Linked DNA regions of Homo sapiens: region 2 is linked to region 1. Evidence: promoter capture Hi-C in human tissues and cell types (Jung and others, 2019). All regions are on one chromosome and are shown on one strand. The core of a region is centred on a gene start or on the middle of the fragment in contact, and the rest is flanking DNA. Distances in the headings are between cores, read along the strand shown. Region 1 holds the start of TNNT1 (troponin T1, slow skeletal type). Region 2 has its middle 6.6 kb from the start of TMEM86B.

The links. Contacts are between HindIII fragments. The study calls those that stand out against the background at their distance.
Region 2: a fragment that was not itself captured here is called in contact with the fragment with the promoter of TNNT1 in region 1 in 4 of the 25 tissues and cell types used here (IMR-90 fibroblasts, lymphoblastoid cells, mesendoderm cells and 1 more).

Annotation. Positions count from the first base shown.
Region 1 is chr19:55,147,532-55,153,954 of GRCh38, forward strand. TNNT1 (troponin T1, slow skeletal type) reads right to left here and starts at 1,675. Exons shown (of 14, transcript NM_003283.6): 1 at 1,630-1,675. TNNI3 (troponin I3, cardiac type) reads right to left here. Exons shown (of 8, transcript NM_000363.5): 8 at 4,236-4,386. The coding sequence ends at 4,303. The HindIII fragment of the contact is 19,018 bases long and covers 1-6,423 here.
Region 2 is chr19:55,218,710-55,225,575 of GRCh38, forward strand. No RefSeq gene overlaps it. Among named protein-coding and RNA genes, the nearest start is that of TMEM86B, 6.6 kb to the right of the region's middle. The HindIII fragment of the contact is 5,464 bases long and covers 42-5,505 here.

The DNA.
Region 1 (6,423 bases), core at 425-2,924:
ACTCCTGGATCTGAGGGAGGAGGGGCTGGGGGCCGGATTCCTGGGTCTGAGGGAGGAGGGGCTGGGGGGTGTGTGGGAGGGTGGGTGTGGACTCCTGAGACTGAGATGGGTTGTCCTGGACACCTGGGTCTGAGGGAGGAGGGGCTGGGGTCTGGACTCCTGGATCTGAGGGAGGAGGGGCCAGGGGCCTGGACGCCTGGGTCTGAGGGAGGAGGGGCCGCGGGCCTGGACGCCTGGGTCTGAGGGAGGAGGGTCTGGGGGCCTGGCCTCCTGGGTCTGAGGGAGGAGGAGCTGGGGCCTGGACTCCTGGATCTAAGGGAGGAGAGGCTGGGAGTCTAGACTCCTGAGTCTGAGGGAGGAGCGGGCTGGGGGCCTGTACTCCTGCGTCTGAGGGAGGAGGGCTCAGGTCTGGACTCTTGGGTCTGAGGGAGGGGGCCGGCTGTCCTAAAGCATGCATGAGGACAGACCTTGGTAGGTGTGGTCCTGGCACAGCCAGGAGGCTGCAGACCCTGCCCCCTCAGCACAGCTGTCCTCTTTTGTCTTATGACAAGTCCATGGGAACCTGATCCAGTTGGGATTAGGAAGAGGCATTTGAGAAGGGACAGTGGCCTGAAGACAATAGCTGCCCCACCCCCAGGAGCTATTTTGGGGGGATGTCATAGATGGTGAAACCGAGGACATTTCCTAAGAAGGGATTTGAGGAAGGGGGGCTTCTGGGAGAATTAGTCACCCGCATCCCCTCTCCCACTCGCCCCACCCCACTGGCTGGTTTCCTCCCCACCTGTCTCCCCTTTCACCTTCCCATACATCACGTAGGGGGCAGGGGCATAAAGGGCACCTTCTGTCCGTAGACCTCACCCTGACCCCTACATTCTTAGACCTCAAAGTCTTTGAGACACCCTAGGCCACAGGGTGCCTAGCCCCAAATCCCAATACCCACAGATTCTGAGACCCCGATTTATGATGCCCGTGTTTCTGAGGCCAGCAAGTCCTCACAGCTCTGGATTCTGAAATCCCAGTTCTTGATAGTCCAGATATGGGCCGGGACATCCTAAGACCACCCCCAGGTCTTGAGACCTCCTAAAATCTGAAACCTCAAGAATATGAGACCCCCAAAATCTTGATACCCAAACTCGGAGGCCCAGTTCATGATACCCCAGATAATGGCACTCTAAGTTTTCATGCTTTCTATCATAATGTCTCAGATTCCGAGCCCTCCACTACCAAAACCCCAATTTCTTCTGAGACCCCCCCAATTCCTGATACCCTCAGAGTCTGAGGCCCCAAATCCTGACACCCAGATTGTTTGACCTCCAAGTCCAGATATCCCTGACTGCTGAGATTTCCCCCAGATTCCCAGAACCCCAAGATCCTAGGAGGTTTTATTCTGGGACATCCAAGTCCTGGCAGCCCCGGGTTAGGATTTGTGTAACCCACAAATCCTAGTATTTTCCCCTCTATCCTGAGTCCCCCTAAAGTCTGAGCCTCTCAAGTTCCCAGACCTCCAGTTGTATGCCCCACCTACCTCTGCACCATTTCTCCACACCCGACATCTTCCCCACCTGCCTCCTGCCCCCTCCCCCAAGGACATGGTTTTTGAAGACCACAGGGCTCCGCAGAGCCCCTTACCTAGGCTGTGTCTGAGATGCTGTGAATCTTGAGGCTGAGCCTTGCTGAGGGCACTGAAGCTCCGGGGAGTTTATAGCTGGAGGCTCGGGCCCGCCCCGAGGGGAGAGGGAGGGGGAGAGAATTCCTTTGCTCAAACACAAGCCTGGGAGTTCAGAGACAGCCCTGCTGCCCCTGGCTCCACACTCAGAGTCCAGAAGCCTCCGTGGGCCCCTCCCCAACCCCATGCCAACCCCATCTGCATGGCCCAGGAGCCCCGCCCCTGCTCCCACCCCACACCCCAGGCTCCCGTGGTGCTCCAACTACCTCCCTTATAGCTCCCTGTGCTTTGACGTCCCCATGCCCGGCACACAGTAGGTCCTTGGAGGACCTACTAATGACACATGGGCTATAAGGAATGTTTCCTGTTTTCTTCTCTCTGTTCCCTCTTTCTATCTAGGTCTCTTTCTGGACCCCCATTTCTGTTGTCTCTGTGGCTCTCCATCTGTGTGTCTCTGTGTGTCTGTCTCTACTTCTTAGTCTCCTCCTCTGTCTCTGTCCATCTTTTTGTCTCCTCCTCCCACCCCCACCCCTTTGTCTGCCGCCAGGATTCCATCCTGGTGACAACAGGCACTAAAGCCGGGAAGCAGGTGTGGGGAGGGGGAGGGGGAGGGTGGGGTGTCAATTAGGGTGAAACCTACCCTCCCTCCCCACCTCCATCTAACGCTGATCTTTTTTGGTATCCCCCTCCCGCTTCCCAGCCAAGCCATGACCTTGAGTTCTAGGTTCAAGCCAGCCCTGGAGAGCAGGCTTCCTCACCCTCCCCGCCTCTCCGTACCTCTGTCTCTGGTGGTCTCGGTCTTTGTGTTTCTGTGCATTTCTCGGGGCCCCTTGCTGGGTCTGTCTTGGGCTCTCTCTGCATCTGTCGCTTTCTGAGCCCCTCAGTGTGTTTCTCGGCATGTGTCTCCGGGTGGTTTTGTCTCTGCATTTCTGTGGGTGTCTCTGCATGTCTGCCCCTCTCAGCGTTTGTGTCTGTGGGGGCTCACAGTCTCTCTGTGCATTTCTGTCCACCTATGACCCCATTTCTGTCTCTTTTTGGCTCTGGGTCTCTGTGTCTGTGTTCACGTCTCTATCTTTCTAGTTCTCTCCATGTCTCTCTTAGTGCCCGCAGTTCCCCCTCTGTGGCTCTCCATTTCCATCTCTTATAGGGTCTCCATGTCTCTGCACCTTGCTGTGAGTATATCTCTGTCTCTCTTTTCTCCTTTCTTTGCACTTCCTTCTATGCATCTTGTGGTATTTTCTCCCTCTCTCTTTGGGTCTTTGCCTGGCTCCTACTCTCTCTACTCCCAACTCAGTCTCTCTGTTGTCGGTCATGTCTCTCTGCCTGTCTGTTTCTCTGTGTCTCTCTCTCTTTGACCTTTAGTCTTGGCATCTCTGTGCACTCCACATGGGCCAGAGGAGCTGTGACAATAGAGATCAGAAGACTGATGGAATGAACTGTTTGTGGCAATAAGATACCAAATTATAAACAAGACCTAAGGCCATGCCAGGCAAGGGTTAAGCCACGCATCCCTACACTTATATAATCGACTATGTTCCAACTGCCACAAGGCTTTTCCTTTTTCTAGCAGCTAAACAAGCACCGGCCTCAAGATAAGCAATATTACAACCATTGCAGCCATCCATTGCCAGATGCTGACTAGCTGAACCCCCTGTTCCACAAGGCATAACTACAGCATTAGTTGAACAAGAGACTGATTTCAGTAACTTTCTCCTGATAAGATGCCGCAGACCACGGACTGGTTCTGGCTGTTGACAGAGGCTGTGCACTGAGTGTCTTCATATCCCTGCTTCGTGTTTCGATACGAATGCATTCAATGGAATGCACTTAAATGTTAAGCCTCCACCACCAAGTGAAGGTGGGATGCATGTAAAATGTGTTTGCGGCCAGTCGCGGTGGCTCACGCCTGTAATCCCAGCACTTTGGGAGGCCAAGGAGGGCGGATCACGAGGTCAGGAAATCGAGACCAGCCTGGCCAACATGGTGAAACCCCGTCTCTACGAAAAACACAAAAATTAGCTGGGCGTGGTGGTGCATGCCTGTAATCCCAGCTACTGGAGAGGCTGAGGCAGGAGAATGGCTTGAACCCAGGACGCAGAGGTTGCAGTGAGCTGAGATCGTGCCACTGCACTCCAGCCTGGGTGACAGAGCAAGACTCCGTCTCAAAAAAAAAAAAAAATGAGTGTTTGCTTGTCACACATGCGTGTGTCCATGTGTCCACCTGTCCATGAATATTCATAGCTCCTTCTATAACCAGTTGAATACGTGCACTTAGCTAACCCACTCAGCATAAATTCCTGCCTTGCCCTTCCCTCCCTTAAAGTGCCTGCTTTTGTTTTTTGGCAAGAAGCCATGCTTCTGGTCTTCAGGTTGTGATCCGCTTCTTAAGAAACAAAGCTCCGCTCTCCAAATTCATGAACCCCGGGATTCTTTTCAATAACACAGCCAAGAGTGCTTCACATGGGAGACCCATCTGGTCCCCAACCTGCTGTGTGGCTTTGGGGGAGCCCCACCTGCAGTCTTCCCATCTGTCTCCTGCCTAAGCCCTGGGTAATAGACATGGAGTCACTTTCAGCTCAGAGAGAAGCTTTATTCCTCAGGGCCCTCCTCAGGGCAGGGGCAGTAGGCAGGAAGGCTCAGCTCTCAAACTTTTTCTTGCGGCCCTCCATTCCACTCAGTGCATCGATGTTCTTGCGCCAGTCTCCCACCTCCCGGTTTTCCTGGAGGATGGCGATGAGTCAGAGGTTAGGGTCTCTTCTTGGTCTCCAGTCTCTCAAGAATCCCTGTCTTCCCTCCAGCCTGTGGGGCCACTCTACCCTGGATGCCTAAGTATCTAGTTCTGGAGCACTTCCTGTCTTTTCAAGATAATCCCTGCCAATTTTCCCCATGCACTTCCTGTCTCCCTCATGCACTTCCTGTCCCCCTCATGCACTTCCTGTCTTTCCCCAGCACTTCCTGTCTCCCTCATGTACTTTCTGTCTTTCCCCATCCACTTCCTGTCTCCCTCATGCACTTCCTGTCTTTCCCCTCCACTTCCTGTCTCCTTCCTGCACTTCCTATCTTTCCCCTCCACTTCCTGTCTGCCTTATGCCCTTCCTGTCTCCTTCCTTCTCTTCTTATTATAGTAGTCCCTCCTTTTCTGCAATTTTACTTTGTGTGGTTTCAGTTACCTGAGGTAAACCATGGCCCAAAAATATTAAATGGAAAATTCCAGAAATAAACAATTCATAAGTTTGATGGATTCTCAGGTCAATAGTAGCCTAACGCCAGGTCATAATGCCTATGTCATCCACCTCACCTCATCTCAGCACATAGGCACTGTCATTTTACATCACAAGGAAAAGAAGGGTGATTACAGTGCTATAAGATATTTTGAGAAAGAGACCACATTCATGAGTTTTATTACAATCTGTTATAATTGTTCTATTTTATTATTATTATTATTTGAGACAGGGTCTGGCTGCCTCATCCAAGCTGGAGTGCAGTCGTGCAATCTCGGCTCACTGCAGCCTCAACTTCCTGGGCTCAAGCCATCCTCTCACCTCAGACTCCTGAGGAGCTGGGACCACAGGTGTGTGCCACCATGCCCAGCTAACTTTTGTTCTGTTTTGTTTTGTTTTGAGATGGAGTCTCCCAGTGTTGCCTGGGCTGGAGTGCAGTGGTGAGATCTCGGCTCACTGCAACCTCTGCCTCCCGGGTTCAAGCAATTCTCCTGCCTCAGCTTCACAAGTAGCTGGGATTACAGGCACCCACGACCACGCCCAGCAAATGTTTGTATTTTTACTACAGGTGGGGTTTCACTGTGTTGGCCAGGCTGGTCTCAAACTCCTGACCTCATGATCCGCCCGCCTTGGCCTCCCAAAGCGCTGGGATTACAGGCACGAGCCACCACACCCGGTAACTTTGGTATTTTTTATAGAGACATGGTCTCGCCATGTTGCCCAGGCTGGTCTCGAACTCCAGAGCTCAAGCAATCTGCCTGCCTTAGCATCCCAAAGTGTTGAGATTACAGGCATGAGCCACCACGCCCAACCTTCTTTTGTTGTTATTTATTGTTAATCTCTTACTGTGTCTAATTTAGAAATGAAACTTTATCATAGGTATGTATGTGTGTATAGGAAAAAAAATTACATATAGGGTTCAGTACAATCCATGGTTTCAGGCATCCACTCCTATCTTTCCTGTCTTCTTCTTTAAGATAGGGTCTCACTGTATTGCCCAGGCTGGAGTGCAGTGGTGCAGTCATAGCTCACTGCACCCTCGATCTCATGGGCTCAAGCGATTTTCCTGCCTCAGCCTCCTGAGAAGCTGCATGCCACCACCGTGACTGGCTAATTTAAAAAAGAAATTTGTAGAAATTAAAACAACAACATGGTGGTGTGCACCTGTAGTCCCAGCTACTCGGGAGGCTGAGGCATGAGAATCACTTGATCCTGGGAGGCAGAGGTTGCAGTGAGCCGAGATGGTGTCACTGCACTCCAGCAACCGAGATGGTGTCATTGCACTCCAGCCTGGGCAGCAGAGACTCCATCGCAAAAAAAAAAAAAAAAGGAAATTAAAAAAAAATTTTTTTTAAACCTCAAAGATTACAGGCATAAGCCACTGCACCTGGACCTTCATGTACCTCTTTGCTCTTACATGGACTTCCTGTAGCCCTAATGCACTTCCTGTCTTCCCCTTCTACTTCCTGTCTTCCTCTTGCATTTCTGAGGACCCCTTACTAGCTGCTTCTACCTCCAACTCCAAGCACCATCTGC
Region 2 (6,866 bases), core at 1,524-4,023, 72 kb after region 1:
GGTGCCCACCACCATACCCGGCTATTTTTTTTTTTTTTTTGAGACAGAGTTTTGCTCGTCGCCCAGGCTGGAGTGCAATGGCATGATCTCAGCTCACTGCAACCTCTGCCTCCCGTATTCAAGAGATTCTCCTGCCTCAGCCTCCTGAGTAGCTGGGATTACAGGTGCCTGCCACCACACCCACCTAATTTTTTTGTATTTTTAGTTGAGATGGGGTTTCACCATGTTGGCCAGGCTGGTCTTGAACTCCTGACCTCAGGTGATCCACCCGCCTCGGCCTCTCAAAGTGCTGGGATTACAGGCGTGAGCCACCATGCCTGGCCTAATTTTTTTATTTTTAAGTAGAGACAGGGTTTCACCATGTTGGCCAGGCTGGTCTTGAACTCCTGACCTCAAGTGATCCACCTGCCTCTGCGTCTCAAAGTGCTGGGATTACAGCCGTGAGCCACCATGCCCAGCTTGGCTAATTAAAAAAAAATCTGGGGAGATGGGGTTCTCACCGTGCTGCCCAGGAAGATTTCAAACTCCTGGGCTCAAGCAATCCATCTGCCTCAGCATCTCAAAGTGACCTCATTTTATCTTAATCACCTCTTCAAAGACCCTGTCTCCAAATACAATCACATTCTGAGGTACTGGAGGTTGGGACGCCAACTTACAAATTTTTGAAGGAGGATGAAATTCAGTTCATAATAGCAGGGATGAGCTTTATGCCCCCTGAAAAAGACATACTTCCCCAGGTAGATTCATCTGTTAGTGTTTTTTGTTTTGTTTTAGACAAAGTCCCACTCTGTCACCCAGGCTGCAGTGCAATGGCACGATCTTGGCTCACTGCAACCTCCACCTCCCGGATTCAAGCGATTATCCTGCCTCACCCTCCTGAGTAGCTGGGATTACTGGCGCCCACCACCATGCCCAGCTAATTTTTGTATTTTCAGTAGAGATGGGGTTTCGCCATATGGGCCAGGCTGGTCTGGAACTCCTGACCTCAAGTGATCCACCTGTCTTGGCCTCCCAAAGTGCTTTCTTTTTTCTTTTTTCTCTTTTTTTTTTTTTTTGAGACAGAGTCTCACTCTGTCGCCCAGGCTGGAGTGCAGTGGCGTGATCTCGGCTCACTGCAAGCTCTGCCTCCCGGGTTCACACCATTCTCCTGTCTCAGCCTCCCGAGTAGCCGCCACCATGCCTGGCTAATTTTTTGTATTTTTAGTAGAGACGGGGTTTCACCGTGTTAGCCAGGATGGTCTCGATCTCCTGACCTTGTTATCTGCCCACCTCAGCCTCCTGAAGTGCTGGGATTACAGGCATGAGCCACCGCACCCGGCCCCAAAGTGCTTTCAAAGTATTGATTCAAAACTATGGCACAATCCCAACCCCACCCCCACTGCTCAGAACCCAGGGAGCATTGGGTTTGGTAGATTCCTTCTTCCACACCCAGAATAAATTTTCTCAGCTCCATTCCCCAAATGATGCTGACTTGAGGCAGGGGAAGAATGCTTTGGTAGCTCAGGGGAAAGGACTGTGGAGTTCCTGTCTTTCCCTCTTCCAAGATCCAAGGGTGCTAGCGACCTTTCTGTGTTCATGGTCAGAAGCAAGGAGGGAGAAAGACCAGGAACCACACAGCTCTTTGTCATCTCACAGGCAGGAAGCATCCAACAGAGGCCAGCTCTGGGGGGCATGCTGGGCCACATCATTTTTGCCAGTGTCCTGGAATAAGGAAGTGTAGGATAGTGAGGAAGGCAGACCGTGGGGCTCCTCCCTACCATGCTCATCAGGGCATCCAGGTGAGGGATGAAGCTGTCCTAAAGTCTTTCCAGAACTCACACACACGTGTCCCCACCTCTCCCCTCCTTGATCATGTCTCCATTTTACGTATTTACTGATCATCTTCTGCTATTGTTAAAGTCTAAGCTGAGGGGTGAAACCACAGCAGAAAGCAAGGAAGGCTCGACCCCAGATCACACAGGGAGAGGTGGACAGACAGCATGGCTCCGCCCATTTGCAGCCATTTCTGGGCCTGTAGGCTCTGGCAGCTCCTGGGATTGCTGTCCTCGGTGCTGAATACGCGTTTGTTGGGGGCACACCTGACAAGTTTGTCATTTTCAGGGAAAACCCAGTCTCTCTCGGCGCTGAGGAGAAAACATGGCACAGCCCTTCTCAGTCCTCTAGCAACCCTGGACTCTGCAGGAGAAAAGAGAGATTCCCTACATTTGTTTCTATGAGAGAAGGGAAGGCTGGAGCAGGGGAGTGGGGGAAATCTCTGCAGTCCTCTCGGAAAGCAAACCCTTCTACACCTGTGATCCCATGTGATTTAGCAGAGCCCTGAGTTAAAACTAGGCCATGATGACACTTGGTGACACAAACATCTGACAAAAGAGCTGTACCCTTTATATTTTCAAAGACTTTCTACAAATTAAGGAAGGCAGAAGACCCATTTAATGGGCAATGGACTTGAAGAGACACTTTACCAAGAATATCCAAATGGCCACAAACACACACACATACACACAAATGGGAATGTGTTCAACTTCATTAGTCATTATGGAAATTAAACCACAAGGAAGCACCAGAACACTGCAGCAGAAGAACTAAAATGGAAAAGACGAACAACCAACTATCTGCAAGAATATGGGGCAAATGAAGCTTCCTCACATTGCTGGCAGGATGGTAAACTGGTAAGCTGCTTTGAGAAATGGTTTGTCAGTAACTACGAAAGCCTAAGGTACGTATACCATCACTCAGCGATTCCACTGCTAGGCAGACATCTGAGGGAAAAAACTTCCTGTGTGCTCCAAAAGACATGGACAGAAATGTTCATGGTAGCTTCATTCATAGTATCCCAAAACTAGAAACATAAAATGTTCATGAAGGGAGGGATGAAACAATAAGTTGTAATACATTCATGCGATAAATAGTACACAGCAATAAAAATAAAAACACCCAGCATGGATCCACATTTCATCCACAATGTTGAGTGAAGAAAGCCAGAATCAAATAACTACATACTGTATAATTCCACTTAGAGAAGTTTCAAGGACAGACTACACTAATTTACGATGATAAAGATCAGGAGACTGGTCACTCTTGGGGAAGGGAGGTACAAACTGGAGGGGAGACAGGAGAACCTGCTAAGATGCAGAAAATTTATTTTTTTTTAATTTTATTTTTGAGATGGAGTTTCGCTCTTGTTGCCCAGGCTGGAGTGCAATGGTGCGATCTCAGCTCACCACAACCTCCGGCTCCTGGGTTCAAGCAATTCTACAGGCATGCACCACCACACCCGGCTAGTTTTGTATTTTTAGTAGAGACGGGGTTTCTCCATGTTGTTGGTCAGGCTGGTCTCGAACTCCCAACCTCAGGTGATCTGCTTGCCTCGGCCTCCCAAAGTGCTGGGATTACAGGCGTGAGCCACCACACCAGGCTATTTATTTTGAGACAGAGTCTCACTCTGTCACCCAGGCTAGAGTGCAATGGCACGATCTAGGCTCACTGCAACCTCCACTTCCCGAATTCAAGCGATTCTCCTGCCTCAGGCTCCCGAGTAGCTGGGATTACAGTCATGTGCCACCATGCCTGATTTTTGTATTTTTAGTAGAGACAGGGTTTCACCATGTTGTCCAGGCTGGTTTTGAACTCCTGACCTCATGATCTGCCTGCCTTGGCCTCCCAAAGTGCTGGGATTACAGGCGTGAGCCACCGTGACCGACTATTTATTTTTTGAGATGGAATTTTGCTCGTCGCCCAGGCTGGAGCACAGTGGTGCGATCCTGACTCACTGCAACCTCCACCTCCCGGGTTCAAGTGATTCTCCTGCCTCAGCCTCCTGAGTAGCTAGGATTACAGGCATGCACCACCACGCCCAGGTAATTTTCTTGTATTTTTGGTAGAGACAGGGTTTCATCGTATTGGCCAGGCTGGTCTCGAGCTCCTGACCTCAGGTGATCCACCCGCCTCAGCCTCCCAAAGTGCAGGGATTTCAGGCATGAGCCACCTCGCCTTTCAGCCCACACAATGAAGGTTTATGAAGCCCCAGATTCCAGGGCCTCCACCACAACCCCATCTCTGCCACACTTCTGGTCCCACTGGGGGCCGTGGTCCCTGCCCACTGGACCCAGTAGGTGTAGGTGTGGGGGTCTGGGCCCCGGGGGGATATACACCTTAGTGTAACAGAACTCAGGGTCTGAGCCTGTATCCTCAGATCCATGACCTGGCCGGGTAAGGAAAGGAAGGGAAGGGGGTCAGGGTTCCTGCAGGAAGGTTATCTGAGTGGCCTTAAACAGACCCAGTTGTCTCTTACTTGTAGTTCTCAAGAGTAACAGTAGAATGTGCTGGGAATGCAACATCCGGAGATATGGAGGGACTGGCCAGGCGGCCTGGGCTCCATTCCTGCCTGCCCTAGAAACAGGATGCCCTTCAATGCTTGAGCCCGGTGACTCAGGTTTCCCCCAGAGTAGAAAACCCAGGGCTGGGTACTTTTTGGGGTCCCTCAGCTGCCATACAAGTGAGGCACACACAGTTGTGACCCTATCCTCCCTAGGCCACTTTCCTAAGCCTTGGGGGACCAGCTTACAACGGACCCTGGGATTCTGCTGTCCCTTGCTGCCCATCTGTGAGAAACAAGCCCACTTCATGTAACTTTTTGCGTGTGGCGTTCTGTCTCATCACTCTGGCAAGTTGGTAACCAGTGCACAGTGAACCTGCTTCACAGACCACACCCCATAGTCCCTGGGCCTCCAGAGCAAAGGGAAGCATCCCCTCCTTCCCACAGCCCTGCTTGCTCTGGAAGGATGCACCCTATCAGTGGGGCCGATGCCAGAGGCCTCCTGAGGCCTCCTACTCCCCAAGCCCAGAGTGCTCTCACCCCTCGCCCGTGGCCTCTGTGAGCGTCTGGCTGGGGCTGTTGACCTCATGCTTCTGGGCCCACATGCTGGGGTACTGCGTCCCTGCAGCCAGGCCCTCCACAGGCACCCTGATGTCTGAGGAGTCACTGGCCCAGCAGAGCCAGTAGGGGCAGGTCTTGGAGTCTGGGCCTGCGGGGCCCTCAGGGTGAGGGAGCTGGTGGTCTGAGCCGGTGTGACCAGGCCAGGGACTAGTTTGGGAATGTGGAAAGGAGAGAGTCATTTGATAAAGTTTGTTTGTGGCTCTAATGAGAATAAAGTGCACAGCCTGGCACTTTTTACAAATGTGCACACGCACGCACGCGCACACACACGCAAACACACATGCACACACAAGTGCACGTGCACACACACGCACATGTTGCTGGGCAGTGGAAAGGTGGCCCCTCTTACCTGTAGACATGCTCAGGACGTCCCTGGGGCCACCTACTCCTTTCTTCTTGGCCCACACAGAGGTGGTGTAGAGGGTCCCAGGCTGAAGCCCTCCACCACGAGCCAGCAGTGTGACGTGCTTGTGTTCCCGCTGGCCATGCCCCTGGACCCAGTAGATGGAAGTCTGCCGGTCTGGGCCCTTGGGGCTGCCCAGCTCAGGGTGATGGAGCTGGAGGTCCGAGCCTCCACACTCACGATTCTGTCTGCTTTGGCGGCTGACATGGGTAGAAGCCTCTGCGGCAAACAGAAGACGGAATCCCACGGCCCTTCCTAGACGTGCAGGATGGAGGCTGATGGGGTCACTAACCTGCTGCTGTGGCCTCTGTCGTGGTCCCGAGGGCCTGGGGAGGGCCCAGATGGGGAATCAGACCCACGGTGGTCTGACCTGCAGGATCGGGATGAAGGCTGCTGAGTCCCACCCCGCCTCATCCCCACCAGCCACCCCGGCTTGGGAGGGAAGATGGAGCCGGCGTTTTGCCCCTTGCCCCAGGTCTGGGTCCCGGCAGGGCTGGAAGGAGCCTGAGAGGGATGTGCGCAGCACCTCCGAGAGTCCCGCTTTAGAGAAACACGAATCAGATCATGAGAAAGCAGACCTCTGAGAAGTCAGATGAAAGGTCGTCGGGGGACCAGAATCAGGGAGGAGGGACACGACGCTGGGGCTGCTGGATGCCGACAGGAGAGCAGCGTCCCGTCGCTCTGGACTGCCGACCCCACAGAGCCCAGGGACCAAAAGCCAGAATGTTCCCCAAACACCAGGGATTATGGGCCCAGCCCCTCCTCCCTCAGACTCAAGAGTCCAGGCCCCCAGCCCCTCCTCCCACAGACTCAGGAGTCCAGCCCCTCCTCTCCCAGACCCAGGAGTTCGGGCCCCCAGGCCCTCCTCCCTCAGACTCAGGAGTCCAGACCCCAGCCCCTCCTCCCTCAGACGCAGGAGTCCAGGCCCCCAGCCCCTCCTCCCTCAGACCCAGGCCCCCAGCCCCTCCTCCCCCAGACCCAGAAGTCCAGGTCCCCAGCCCCTCCTCCCTCAGACTCAGGAGTCCAGACCCCCAGCCCCTCCTCCCTCAGACCCAGGAGTCCAGACCCCCAGCCCCTCCTCCCTCAGACTCAGGAGTCCAGGCCCAGCCCCTCCTCCCTCAGACTCAGGAGTCCAGGCCCAGCCCCTCCTCCCTCAGACTCAGGAGTCCAGGCCCCCAGCTCCTCCCTCAGACTCAGGGGTCCAGGCCCCAGTCCCTCCTCCCTCAGACTCAGAAGTCCAGGGCCCCAGCCCCTCCTCCCTCAGACCCAGGAGTCCAGGTTCCAGCCCCTCCTCCCTCACCTCCAGGAACCCCTCATGTCTGCAGGCCCCACGTGCCCCTGGAATCTGCACACCCAGACCCCCGTCCCTCCTGCTACACTTCACTGCGCAATTTCCTCTTTCCCCACCTTTCGCCAGGTCTGAGTGGAGAGGGTAGGAGATGAGGAGGAAGTGGAGGTTTCGAACCTGAGTCCAATCCTTCAGATCCTCCTCATGCCTGACCCTTCCTCAAGGAAATCCCTCAGCTT